2 separate regions of the Homo sapiens genome follow, and region 2 is linked to region 1. Evidence: promoter capture Hi-C in human tissues and cell types (Jung and others, 2019). All regions are on one chromosome and are shown on one strand. The core of a region is centred on a gene start or on the middle of the fragment in contact, and the rest is flanking DNA. Distances in the headings are between cores, read along the strand shown.

Region 1 (7,156 bases), core at 1,487-3,986:
AGACAGAGTCTCACTCTGTTGCCCAGGCTAGAGTGCAGTGGCGCCATCTCGGCTCATTGCAACCTCTGCCTCCCGTGTTCAAGTGATTCTCCTACCTCAGCCTCCCGAGTAGCTGGGATTACAGGTGCCCGCCACCACGCCTGGCTAATTTTTGTATTTTCGGTAGAGACGGGGTTTCACTATGTTGACCAGGCTGGTCTCGAACTCCTGACCTCAGGTGATCCGCCTGCGTCGGCCTCCCAGAGTGCTATGATTACAGGCGTGAGCCACTGCTCCTGGCCAATACCTTATTATTAGTATTATTTTAAATCACCTGAGATGCTATATATTTGTTTAATTGTCTGCCGCTCTGTCTTCCACAAAAATATAAGCTTCCCGAGAGCACAGACTTTGTCTTCACTGCTGGTTCCTGGCACATAATAGATGCACAATGAATACTTGACTGACTAAATGCACAACTGAGTTACTGGGTGTGAGTAGATTATGTAGCCCAGTGCCTGGAGTGCGGAGAAGCTGCTCAGAAAAAGCAGAGTATCAGGCTTCCGCCCCCGGACGATGGCCAGGTCTCAGGGTATCATCCCCGCACACCTGATGCAGTGGGCGGCAGTGAGGACGAAGTTGCTAGCAATCAAAGTCCCGCCACACGTATGCCTCCACGTGTCGTTCTTGAGGTACTGGAGGGAGATCTGCAGGAGGGTGGGGAGGGCTGTGTGTCAGCCTGCAGGTCCCTGGGACCCTCACCCCGCCACCCTCTCTATCTGTACCTCCCAGCCCTACACAGGCTTACCTGCCAGGGCCAGCTGTGGGGCCGGGCATCCTCTCCTCCCACCACTCGGGCGGATAGGTTGGGCGGGAAGCTGGGCACCCCACAGCTGGAGGCTGGGGAGACAGGAGGCCAGAAGAACCAGTGAATAGGGCTGGTAGCCCACGGGGAAAGGGGTGGGAGGGTGGGCAGGTGGAAGAAGCACAGAGTTGGGGCTGGGCAGACACGGGGTTGATATTTTACTGTGTCACGGGGGTAAGCCACCCAGGTCTCTAGGCCTTGTTTTCCCTTTCTGTGAAATGTGAAGAATCACACTAATGCGGTGAGTTTGCCCTGAGAACTGAATTAGACAACACATAAAAAAGAAAGCGTTTGGCCGGGCACGGTGGCTCACACCTGTAATCCCAGCACTTTGGGTGGCCAAGGCGGGTGGATCGCTTGAGATCAGGGGTTTGACACCAGCCTGGCCAACATGGCGAAACCCTGTCTCTACTAAAAATACAGAAATTAGCCAGGCGTGGTGGTGCATGCCTGTAATCCCAGCCACTCAGGAGGCTGAGGCAGGAGAATCGCTTGAGCCTGGGAGATGGAGGTTGCAGTGAGCCGAGATCGTGCCATTGCACTCCATCCTGGGTGATAAGAGCAAAACTCCATCTCAAAAAACAAAACAAAACAAAACAAAACTGGCTGGCATGTGTGCGAGTGCCCGGTACACCTGTGTTCTTCTGTCTGTTTTTAGGCCCCTGCATCATGGTGTGTGTGTGAGAGAGCAGTAAATCCACTGTTATAGCTGGGAAGCTGTGTGGAGCGGTCAAGAACACGTGCTGTTCCGCGAGACAGACGTGGACTCAAATTCTGCCTCTTCCACTAACCTGCCATGTGATGTCAGGCAAGATACTAAGTCGCACGGAACCTCGATGTCCTCATCTGTAAAATGGGGCTATGAAAAGACCCTACCTCTTTTTCTTTCTTTTTCTTTTTTTTTTTTTTTTGAGACGGAGTTTCACTCTTGTTGCCCAGGCTGGAGTTTGATGGCGCGATCTCGGCTCACTGCAACCTCCTCCTGGGTTCAAGCAATTCTCCTGCCTCAGCCTTCTGAGTAGTTGGGATTACAGGTGCCCGCCACCACGCCTGGCTAATTTTTGTATTTTTAGTAGAAACGGGGTTTCATCTTGTTGGCCAGACTGGTCTCAAACTCCTGATCTCAAGTGATCCACCCACCTCGGCCTCCCAAAGTGCTGGGATTACAGGCGTGAGCCACCATGCCTGGCAATAGACCCTACCTCTTAAGGTTGTTTTGAGGATTAAATTGGCTCCTACATGTAAGGGGCCTAGCATAGCGTCTGGCACATAGTAAACACACAGGAAACAGGAGCTGCTATTATTACTGTTGTTGTTGTTAGCTGGAAGGACTCTTCATTAAGTGCTCTCCTTTGCCAAAAAAGTTAGTGAGATTTAGAGAGGTGAAATGACTTTTCCAGGTCCTGCAGAGAAGAAGTGGCATTTAAGCTAAGTCCCTGGGCTCCTAATCTGGGAAAACGCCACCAAAATGATGGAATGGAGAATCCTCAAGGGAGAGAGAATGCTGGGAAAGGCAGACCCCGATGGTCCCTGGGGTGAACCCAGGATGAGGCATCTCGTGTCCCTCCCCCTTGCGTGGTGCTTTCCACACCTCATTTCTAACTGGGGACACGTCAGATCATCTTCCCTGTTTTGCAGATGTGGAAACAGAGTTGGCAGGCAGGCTGTGGCTTGTCTGACACACAGCTGGTTGGTAGCATCTGAACCCACAGGGGACCCCAAAGTGTCTTACCTGGAGAGCAGAGGCCCCCCCACTCCCCATCCCGTCCTTGCCCTGGAGGCCAGCCCGAGCTCACAGCCTGCTAGCTGCAGCCCCACCCCACCGCTTACCACAGGCCAAGAGCGCAGCGAGGACAGTGATGCCCAACATGGTTAGGTGCTCAGGACTGGCTGACCATCGGGATGGGCTGGGGCACACTTATAGGCAGGAGCAGGTGAGTGCACCTGGTCAAGGCCAAACCGCCCCTTGGAGAGAAACCTGCTCTGATAAGGCCCTTTCCCTGACCTTGGGTGGTTACTGTTTAATTTGGGCAGGAGACAGGGCTTTCTTAGAAGTATGGATTTTCCAAATATCCTGAAACAGAAAATTCTGAGTTGCAGTGCTTTTTGGCATCCCCCACCCCACTCTGTTTGACGTGTGTGTTCATTCTCTCTCCCTACCTTATACTATTTATTTATTTATTTGGAGATGGAGTCTTGCTCTGTTGCCCAGGCTGAAATGCAGTGGCACAGTCTCAGCTCACTGCAACCTCCACCTCCCGGGCTCAAACGATTCTCGTGCCTTAGCCCCCTGTGTAGCTGGGACTACAGGCGCCTGCCACCACGCCAGGTTAATCTTTTGTATTTTATTTATTTTTTTGAGACAGGATCTTGCTCTGTCACCCAGGCTGGAGTCTCAGCTCACTACAACCTCCGCCTCCCGAGTTCAAGCGATTCTCCTGTCTCAGCCTCCCAAGTAGCTGGGACTACAGATGTGTGCCACCATTTTTTTTTTTTTTTTTTTTTTGTATTTTAGTAGAGACAGGGTTTCACCCTGTTGCCTAGGGTGGTCTTGAACTCCTGAGCTTAGGCAATCTGCCTACCTCAGCCTCCCAAAGTGCTAGGATTACAGGTGTGATTACAGGCCGTTACCTTATTCTTTTTAGTTATTTATTGGGCACCTACTGTGTGTCAGGCATTGCGCTCAATTCTTCTTGCATTATCTCACTTAATTCTTCCAACAACATGAAATAGACGCGGTTATCTGCTCTGAGGTGAGATGAGAAAGGACCAGGCGCAGTGGTGCATGCCTGTAGTCCCAGCTACTCCTGAGGCCAAGGTAGGAGGATCGCTTGAGCCCAGGAGTTCGAGGCTGCAGTGAGCCGTGATCGTGCCACACTGCATTCCAGCGCGGGTGACAGAACAAGACCTTGTCTCTAAAAAAATAAAATAAAAGTGAGGAAGCTGAGACTCAGCGGGTAAGTGACCATCTAGGGTCACACGGCTGGGCAGCAGCAGAGCCAGACTTTGAAGCCAAAGCTTCTAACACCAGCCTGGGGCTTCAAGCTGTGGAGACATGCTGCTCCTTCTCTGCCTTTCTAGTGCTATTGGATCGCTTCCTGGCTCTCTCTCTGTCTCATCTTTCTAATTGCCTGGGCTTGATGCACTCCTGCACCTGCCTCCAGGGCTGTGGTTGGAGGCAGGGATGCAGCAGGCTCTGGAAGGTGCTTAGTTGGCCAGATTCCTTCCTGGAGTCAGCTTAGTTGTAGGTCCTCAGTTTCCCCATCTCTAAAATGGGCAAAAGGACCAGATGGACTTTCAGGCTCCTTTCAGTTCTACAATTCTGTAACTTGAATGTCAAGGTCAGTGGCAGATCTGAGGGCCCAAAGCACTGAGTAGCAGAAATTCTACCAGAGCCTCCGGCATTCGGGGTTGGCCATCCCTTGGAACATGTGGTTTGATCCATTCGCCCCAAGGCCTGGCCTCAGCCTGGTTGGTTAGATTCTGTCTTTCGTTTCCCCTCTACTCATACTGAGCTCCCCTTGAAGGTCATTTTCTGAGCTGGGCCTACTGGCCACCTTAGGAATTCCTTCCTGATAGAAAAGTTCAGAGCACTACGCACCCCGCCATTCATAGCGGTGATCTGGGGGTGAAGGAGGATTCTAACTTACACTTTTTTTTTTTGAGAGTCTTGCTCTGTGGCCCAGGCTGGAGTGCAGTGGTGCGATCTCAGCTCACTGCAACCTCCACCCCTGGGTTCAAGCAATTCTGCTTCCTCAGCCTCGCGAGTAGCTGGGATTATAGATGTCCACCACCATGCCCGGCTAATTTTTGTATTTTTAGTGGAGACCGGATTTCACCATGTTGGCCAGGCTGGTTTGTTTATTTATTTATTTATTTTTTGAGATGGAGTTGGAGTCTCGCTCTGTCGCCCAGGCTGGAGTGCAGTGGTGCGATCTTGGCTCACTGCAACCTCTGCCTCCCAGGTTCAAGCAATTCTCCTACCTTACTTAGTCTCCTGAGTAGCCGGGACCAGTGCCACTGGCTAATTTTTGTTCCTTTTGTAGAGACGGGGTTTCACCACGTTGGCCAGGCTGGTCTCGAACTCCTGACCTCAAGTGATCCACTCACATAGGCCTCCCAAAGTGCTAGGATTACAGGTGTGAGCCACCATGCCTGGCCTCTAACTACACATTTTTATGCAGCTTAAATTCTTTTTTAAAACAAACATAGTTACCTTGGTAGTATAAAAATCAATAGGTTTAATTTTTTAAGAAAGATAAAAGTGGGAATGTGCACTGGGGGCTCTGCTCAGCTATGGTGACATCAAGGCCTCAGTCCTGGGGTGTCTGGGGACTTCAGCCTGCGGGGAATTTTCTGTTTCATTTTGGAGGTTGGTTGTGCATGATACAGGTTTATCAGTGGCTACTGGCCAGTCTGCTTCAGACCCAGGGCTTTTGGTTGCCAAGCCTTGCAAAGGGTCATTCTAGCCTGGAAACTGGGAACATAAGCAGAGATATGGCTTGAGCTAGGTGATAGGTCTTGGAAATTAGCAGGGTCTGAAGCGGGGAGACAGGACACCTGGTTTCCATCTCAGTGACAGAATGGATGACCCAGACCCTGAGCAACCTCTTTGAGCCTCAGTTTCTCTCATGTCCCTTGATCAACTTGGGAAAATGAATTAACTGGGCGTCTCCTTGTAGGAGCTCATCAATTTATACTCAGAGATACAGCAACTTGTTAGCACGCATCTCAGCTGTGTATACATGCCCATGGATTCACAAGTATACGTGGACAGGCGACGCACACACGCACATACACACACACGCACACACACATGCACACACACATGCACACACATGCACACATGCACACACGCACACAAACACATGGACACACACGCACACACACATGCACACAATGCACACACCCACGCGCACACATGCACACACAAACATACACACACATATGCACACATGCACACACGCACACACACACATGCACACACACGCTCCTCCACGTCCACAAATATGCACACACCAATGATATAATACATATAAAGCATTCGGTTATGTGTAGAGCCAAGCAGAGCCATGGGCCACCCATTCAAACATGTACACAAACATAGAAATAGCCAAATGGATTGATGATGAGGTCCCAGGTGAAGAGAGTTATTGTCAGCTCTTTGAAGGTTCACAGAGAAACTGACCTTTTTGGAGGGAGGTTGCTGGCTGCTCAGCTATAGGGAAACTTGCTTGTTTTGAGACATCTACAGGGAGGGACCTTTTATGTAAGGCAGCACCAAACAATTGTCCCTGGAGAAAACCGAGGTCGCCCTTAATCTGTTTCAGATGCTGAAGACAGGATGTTGAGTGCTTTGCTTAGGGTTGAACTAAACCCACCACTATTGCTTCATAGCTCTATGGCCTTATGCTTGTGACGCAACCTCTCTGTGCTTCCTCGTTTATAAAGTGAGAGTGAAAACGGTACCTTTGGCCGGGCACGGTGGCTCATGCCTGTAATCCCAGCACTCTGGGAGGCTGAGGTGGGCAGATCACCTGAGGTCGGGAGTTCAAGACCAGCCTGGCCAACATGGTGAAACCCTGTCTGTACAAAAATACAAAAATTAGCCGGGCATGATGGTGGGTGCCTATAATCCCAGCTACTCGGGAGGCTGAGGCAGGAGAATTGCCTGAACCCGGGAGGCGGAGGTTGCAGTGAGCCGAGGTCGTGCCATTGCACTCCAGCCTGGGTGACTGAGCAAGACTCCGTCTCAAAAAAATAAAAAGAAAAAGAAAGAAAATGGTACCTCCCTCCTAGGGCTGTTGGAAGAAGTGCCTGGCATATGGCAAGGACGGTCTAAATGTTTGCTATTACTATTATTATTGTTGTTATCTGGTTCTTATGAGAAAGCTTGAGACTGGACTTGGTCACTGAGTACTTTTGCCTTCATGGGCCCCTTTCTCCATTTAAAAAATATTAAAAACTGGCTGGGCATGGTGGCTCGTGCCTGTAATCCCAGCTACTCAGGAGGCTGAGGTGAGAGGATCCCTTGAGGCCAAGAGTTCAAGACCAGCCTGGGCAACATGGCGAGACCCCTGACTCTAAAAGAATTTAAAAAATTACCTGGGTGTGGTGGCACATGCCTGTAGTCCCAGATACTCTAGAGGCTGAGGTGGGAGGACTACTTGAGGCCAGGAATTTGAGGCTGCAGTAAGCTATGATCATGCTACTGCATTCTAGCCTGGGTGACATAGAGAGACCCCAACTCCAAAAAATAAAACATAAAAAAATGAAAAATTATGTTTCCTTAAAAAAAATAATAAAAATTAT
Region 2 (6,310 bases), core at 2,099-4,598, 190 kb after region 1:
TCAAGATTATAGCTCAGCCATGTAATCAGGACCCTGCACAGTATTCCCCCCAGCATTTTACTATAAAAATGTCAAACATACAGAGAGGCTGAAAGAAGCAGATAATGAGCTCCTATGTACCCACCACTAGATTCTACCATCGGCATTTTGCCATATTTGCTTTATCACAGATCTTTCCATCTATCCGTGTGTCCATCCATTTTATATTGTGGTGCATTTCGAAATAAGTTCTATACACATCTTTTAAGACAAACACTTCAGTGACTTCAGAAAGTTCTAAAATATTGACAGTAATTCATCTCGATGCTTGAATCCGATTTGAGATTACGTCTAAAGATGCAGTGTGATATCCTCCACCTCAATTCCTTGTCAAAGAACAACAACAGTCTCTCTCTTTTCCATTCAATTGAAAAGTCAGTGAAATGACAAATTATTGGACTATGGGTAAAAACAAAAATCAACTAGTTGTGGTGGTACGGACTCTCGGGGCTGGCTCTGCTTTTCATCATCATCTCTATCATCATTTATGGAGTCCTTAGTAAGTGCCAGGCACTTTTCCTTGAATATACTCTTTTCATCCTCAGAGAAACCCTGCAAGGTGGGTGTCATTATTGTCCCTACTTTACAGAAAAGGAGACTGAGATGCAGAGAGGTTAAGGTCCCCTAGCATTCGGGCAGGGAGATTGCCATTGCATGTCACCACTACATAATCCTCAGGCAGCTCAACTTTTCACACCTCCATCACTGCTGGGTGGGGAGGGGATGGGATGGGGGAGCAGAGAGAGTGACTGAGTGGGGGGAGGGAGAGGTTGTCACTTGGGATAGTGGGGTTGTCACTGTTTTGTTGACACTTAGGACATGAAATAACAGATAGCCCTTAACACCAGAATTCTATCCTCTGCAAAAAAAGAAAAGACCCTTGGGAGTAAGAGAAATAAAAACAAGCCAGATAGTTTATGTTTGTAAATTCCGAAGCCTATGAGAAATCCTCAGAAATATTAATACTTTCATATAATGAGAATTTTATTTTTAAGTCTGCTGTCTTTAATAGGGATAAAAAGACACTTCTTTTTCCAAAAGAACCATGCCCTGTTGCCCTCAAATTGCCTGAGTTATTAATCTTCAATTGCAGAGGACTACATCATCAAGCACCACATCCAAACTAAAGTAAAAGTAATCTAAAGTCAACTTTCGAGAAATGTCTCTTTTGTGGGAAAGCCACAGGAAATGCCTCCAGAGTAAAACCCCAAATCTGAATGACTGGCTTTTTTTTTTTTTTTAGCTCTTCCCCCCGATGTTTCCACAGCTGGTGCCTTGCGGTAGCTACCTGACCACCCCAGCTAAAGGCGTCACCAGTCACTTTGTTGTCTAGCTAGCATGTGTCACTGCTGTGGCTCCTTCCTTGAGCTTATCATTCTCTGTCATTTTCTTGTTCTTTACTTAGCTGTTTACTGTTTCCCTTTCACTGAGATACGTTCCAAGAGAGCCCAAACTGTGTTGTTTTTGTTAAACTCAATTCTCCATGGGTTTCCTGTGTTTGTACCCATCTTCAGAGCAAAGACACTGACAGATTTTGTTCCAGACAATCTTCCAAGGACATCTGTAGGGCAAATATCCTGAGAGGATAGGGATAGTGTCCCTATCCAGGGCAGAGTGCAGATTTATGATAAAAATGTCATCTCTGGCTGGGCACGGTGGCTCATGCCTGTAATCCTAGCACTTTGGGAGGCCCAGGTGGACGGATCACCTGAGGTCAGGAGTTTGAGACCAGCCTGGCCAACATGGCGAAACCCTGTCTCTACTAAAAACACAAAAAAATTAGCCGGGCATGGTGGCTTGCACCTGTAGTCCCAGCTAATCGGAAGTCTGAGGCAGGAGAATCACTTGAAACCGTGCAGCAGAGGTTGCAGTGAGCTGAGATTGTGCCACTGCACTCTATCTAGCTTGGGAGACAGAGCAAGACTCTGTCTCAATTAAAAAAAAAAAAAAAAGGTCATCTCCTTCCAGGGCAAAGGTTGGGCACTGGCTAGCAGCCCCTTTTAAAAGACTGGAGTTTCCTGAGCTTGGGGTTCCTTAGCTGGGAAACAGACTCGCAGTGTGCACAGCATCCACCTGAGCTGTCCTGCATCACCCCGGGGTACTTGCAGGGCAAGGGGAACCAACGCAAACATGAGCTCACAGTGCCTGCTGTGCTGTGAGTAATAACATCCTTTGTCTCTGGTCCTGGAGTCTCTGGTCTTCTGCTAGCATCATTAAGCAGTGGCAGGCTAACTTAGCTTGCAAGTAGTGTAAAAATCTCAGACCCTTTGCATTTCCTCACAGTCTGTTCATTACTCCCCTCTGGCCCCCAGCGCTGCCATGCCTGACACATAGTGGTGCTCAGTAAATCATGAATGAATGAAAGTACAAAACAATGCTTAAAAGTAAGTCAGGGTAGCCTAAGAACCTCTGACAGTAACTACCTTTCATTTTCCCCTTCAGTATTTATCCTAGATGACATTCTGGAAAAAAAAAAAAAAGTCTATTTCTTTAGCTGAATGGGTTGGGCCCTATTTCCCCACTTTAATCTTGCCCTGTGCAGTCACTTTCCTACCTGAAAACACTGTAGAAAGTGATTAGATGCGTTAAACTCTGTAAATTAGTTCTAAGACACAGGGCACCGACCATGCAAAAGAGCAAAAGAGCTTCAGGCATCTGCACTCCCTGCTTATAGGTCACAAGTGAGATAGAGAAGCAAAATTTCTGTTGAGGGGTTACCAGATCTTAAGTGGCCTGGGAGCCCTAGAAATTCCTCAGTGTTGTATTTGGGAAGGGAGAGGTTAGGCAAGGGGGGAGTCTCTCTGACCGCCGGGTGGGTGTCGTTCGTAAGTCAGGGGCAGCAGGGATGCCCCTCCTAATCCCAGCTGTAACCCCCAGGACTTCCCAGAGTGGCATGGCTGGTGCCAAGGAGGGTCTAAGGCTCCCGGGGGCTTCCTCCGCGGGCGGGGTGGGGCCTGCATCTGGAAAGGAGGGGCTGGTGTTGGGGTAGCTACTGGGGTGCTCCTGGGGACCGGAGCCTGGATCCAGGAGGATGGGGCCGGGGAGCCACCCCTCCTCCTGCCAGGGCTAGTCCTCGCTGGGCCGCCCCTTCCGGTCCCCGGTCTCGGCCCGCCACCCCTTCCCGCGCCGCACTCACCTGGCGGGAGGAGGAAGCCCACGCTCCGACCTCCGCCGAGAGCCCTGCCAGCTCGGGAGGCGTCGGGCCAGCTCCGGGGCGAAGCCTCCCGGCCGCGCTCCCGCGGAGTCTCCAGCTCGCACCCGGCACCCCGCCCGCCCGGCCGGCCTGTGTACGCGCGTTGCCATGGCAACGCCGCCAGGCGCCGCGGGGTCCAGCCTAATAGATGAGGGCGTGGCCTGCGCGGCAGAGGGGGCGTGGCACCGTGCAGGGAACGCCCACTGGGTTACCGCCTGCTGAATGCTCCAGGCCCCACGAGCCTGCCCCATTTCACAGATAGGAAAGCGGAGGCTCAGAGGTCACAGAAATGGCCCAAGGTTTTACAGCGAGGAAGGAGCAGGGAGGAGATTTGATTCAAGAATCCTTTCCATTACCCCTCACTGTAAGCTGGATGCGTTGAGGGAGGGTCGGGGGCGATAGGGAGAGGTAGGAGATTGATGGAGCTGAACTCATGAGACCCTTGGAGGTTAGTATGCCCCCTGCCCTACCCAAATCTCTAGTCCTTTCCGTTACAGGCCAGAAAATAGAAAGAGTAAGAAGAGGGGATCTCTGGGAGTGGGGTGGGGATTGGGAAAGGGATGGGGTGGAATGAAAAATTTTGAAAGAATGAGGATTTCTTCCATGTGCTGGGGAAAAAATATTTCCAAACTCACAATCCTGCTGCCTCTGCTCCTCCCTGTTAAGAGTGACATTTATTCATTCTTTTGCCCTTTCTCTATCTCTGCAAACATCTTTTGAGTCCTATGAGTGTCACACGCTGATCCCAGAATACACCTGGAACAGTTACTGTCCTTAAGAAACCGCTTGTCAGCCGGCACAGGACTCGCGGGATGGAGTGTGTTGAGCAGATGTGCAAATCCTATCTCCCGCCACTATCTCCAGCAGGAAATCCTATCTCCTGCTGACTCTACCTGGAGAGTGATTCCTTTCACTGGCAGGAAATGGCTGACCAGACACCTCAAGAAAAACTCTAAACGTTTTTCTAAGAGAGATGAACTATGGCACATTCTACCCTAGTGATACGGTTTGGCTGTGTGTCCCCACCCAAATTTCATCTCGAATTGCACTCCCCACGTGTTGGAAGAGGGGCCTGGTGGGAGGTGATTGAATCATGGGGGCAGACTTCCCGCTTGCTTTTCTCATGATAGCGAGTGAGTTCTCATGAGATCTGATGGTTTAAAAGTGTGGCACTTCCCCCTTTGCTCTCTCTCTCTCCTGCTACACCATGTTACAACATGCTAGCTTCCTTGCTTCCCCTTGGCCTTCCGCCATAACTGTAAGTTTCCTGAGGCCTCCCTAGCAGTGCAGAACTGTGAGTCAATTAAACTTCTTTTCTTTGTAAATTATTCAGTCTCAAGGAATTACTTTATAGCAGTGTGAGAACAGACTAATACACCTAGTCAATAGGAAGAGGATCTGAGAGAGAAATCATGGACATCGATTTGTGGTGGAATATACAGTGAAGATGCTCAAACGTGCCTGGAGGCTTTTAGAAATGCGGACTTCTGGGCACAGACCCCAGAGATTCTGATTTAGCAGGCCTGGGACATAATCCAGGAATGTGCATTTGCAACAAGCTTGACAAAACCCTGATTTATGCAGCTGAACTGCAGAGACCTCTCCCGGAGCCTGTCCCTACAAATCTCTTCCAGGCCCTCAGTCTGGAAGGTTCTGCCTGGATCAGTTTCCTACAACCAGAAAGATTCTAGGCGTAAAATGTTAGGAGGGACCACAAGGGCTGGGACCCAAGTGATGGCTTCACAGGAACAGAGAGGGTCAAGCTCAGCTTCCCACACGTTTCTGCCTCAGAGCCTTTGCTCTTGCCCATTCCTCTGCCTGGAATGCACTTCCCCTCAAGAGTCTCCTTTGCCTTCTTTACTTTAGCTTTTTACTCACATATCATCTTTTCTAAAATTGGTTTTTTGAAACAATGAAACAACCACCATGAAATCTAATAAACAACAAAAAAGAGCAAATAAAAACAATAAGAACAGCAAAAGCAAATAAAAATAAGAACAACAAAAGCAAATAAAAATAAGAACAACAAAAGCACATCCAAACAAAATAAAAACCTCAACACTCTATCCCTCTTCCCTTCTTTTTGCCACTTGCTATAGTTAGAATATTTGACCCCTCCAAATCTCATGTTGAAATTTGCTCCTCAGTGTTGGAGGTGGGGCCTGGCGGGAGGTGCTTGGATCATGCGGGCGAATCCCTCATGGATGGCTTGGTGCTGTTCCTGTAGGGTGCATGAGTTCTCACTCTATCAGTTTCCTAAAGAGCTGATTGTTAGAAAGAGCCTGGCACCTCCCCCTCGCTCACTCTCACTTCCTCTCTCATCATGTGATCTCTGCACATGCAGGCGCTACTTTCTGCCAGGAGTGGAAGCAGCCTGAGACCCTCACCAGAGGCAGATGCTGGCACCATGCTTCTTGTACAACCTGCAGAACTGTGAGCCAAATAAACCTCTTTTCTGGATAAATGACACAGCCTCAGGTATTACTTGATAGCAACACAAATGGACTAATACATCACTTATCATCAACTCACATACTATTTCTTTATTTATTTATGTTATTTATTGTGTCTCCCTCCCTGACCCCTGGTAGAATCTAAACTCCATGAAAGCAGGAATTTCTTTTTTCATGTTTTGTTTGCTGCTGTGCCACCAGTCCCTAGAACAATGTCTGAATGAATAAATATGCAGGGGGAAGCCCCTGCCACCCTTCTGAAGCCCGGCCTCCTGTCCTCTGAGGACTGCTGGGCTGACCTGTCCTCGCCCCAGGATGTCGGCTTCTCTAGTCCCCTGCCCAGGCCTGAACACCACCTCCATCCCTACCACCACCCCTCCATGCTTGTCTTTGGTCAAACTCTTGTCATTAACATGAACCCAGGACACAAACTTGCTATCAGACAGACCCCAGTGAAACCCAGGCTGGCCATGAGCTGGAACAGCCCATGCCCCTCACCAGGCTTTGAGAGATCATCTGTTGCTGTTAGCTGATATCTCAATGAAAAACAAAAAATCCTAAACTGAGAGCAAAGCTGACACTCAGAATCAGTGGAGCCGAAGTTGCCAAATCTTAATTGGATCCT

What was found. Contacts are between HindIII fragments. The study calls those that stand out against the background at their distance.
Region 2: a contact is called between the fragment with the promoter of FHAD1 here and the fragment with the promoter of CTRC in region 1, in 1 of the 25 tissues and cell types used here (adrenal gland).

The regions. Positions count from the first base shown.
Region 1 is chr1:15,434,023-15,441,178 of GRCh38, reverse strand. CTRC (chymotrypsin C) reads right to left here and starts at 2,736. Exons shown (of 8, transcript NM_007272.3): 1 at 2,675-2,736; 2 at 788-879; 3 at 589-686. The coding sequence starts at 2,714. RefSeq lists an enhancer at 7,007-7,156. The HindIII fragment of the contact is 5,601 bases long and covers 1-5,299 here.
Region 2 is chr1:15,244,261-15,250,570 of GRCh38, reverse strand. It overlaps FHAD1 (forkhead associated phosphopeptide binding domain 1), which reads right to left and starts at 3,348. Exons shown (of 34, transcript NM_001391957.1): 1 at 3,176-3,348. RefSeq lists silencers at 3,083-3,322, 3,340-3,513. The HindIII fragment of the contact is 8,594 bases long and covers 1-6,032 here.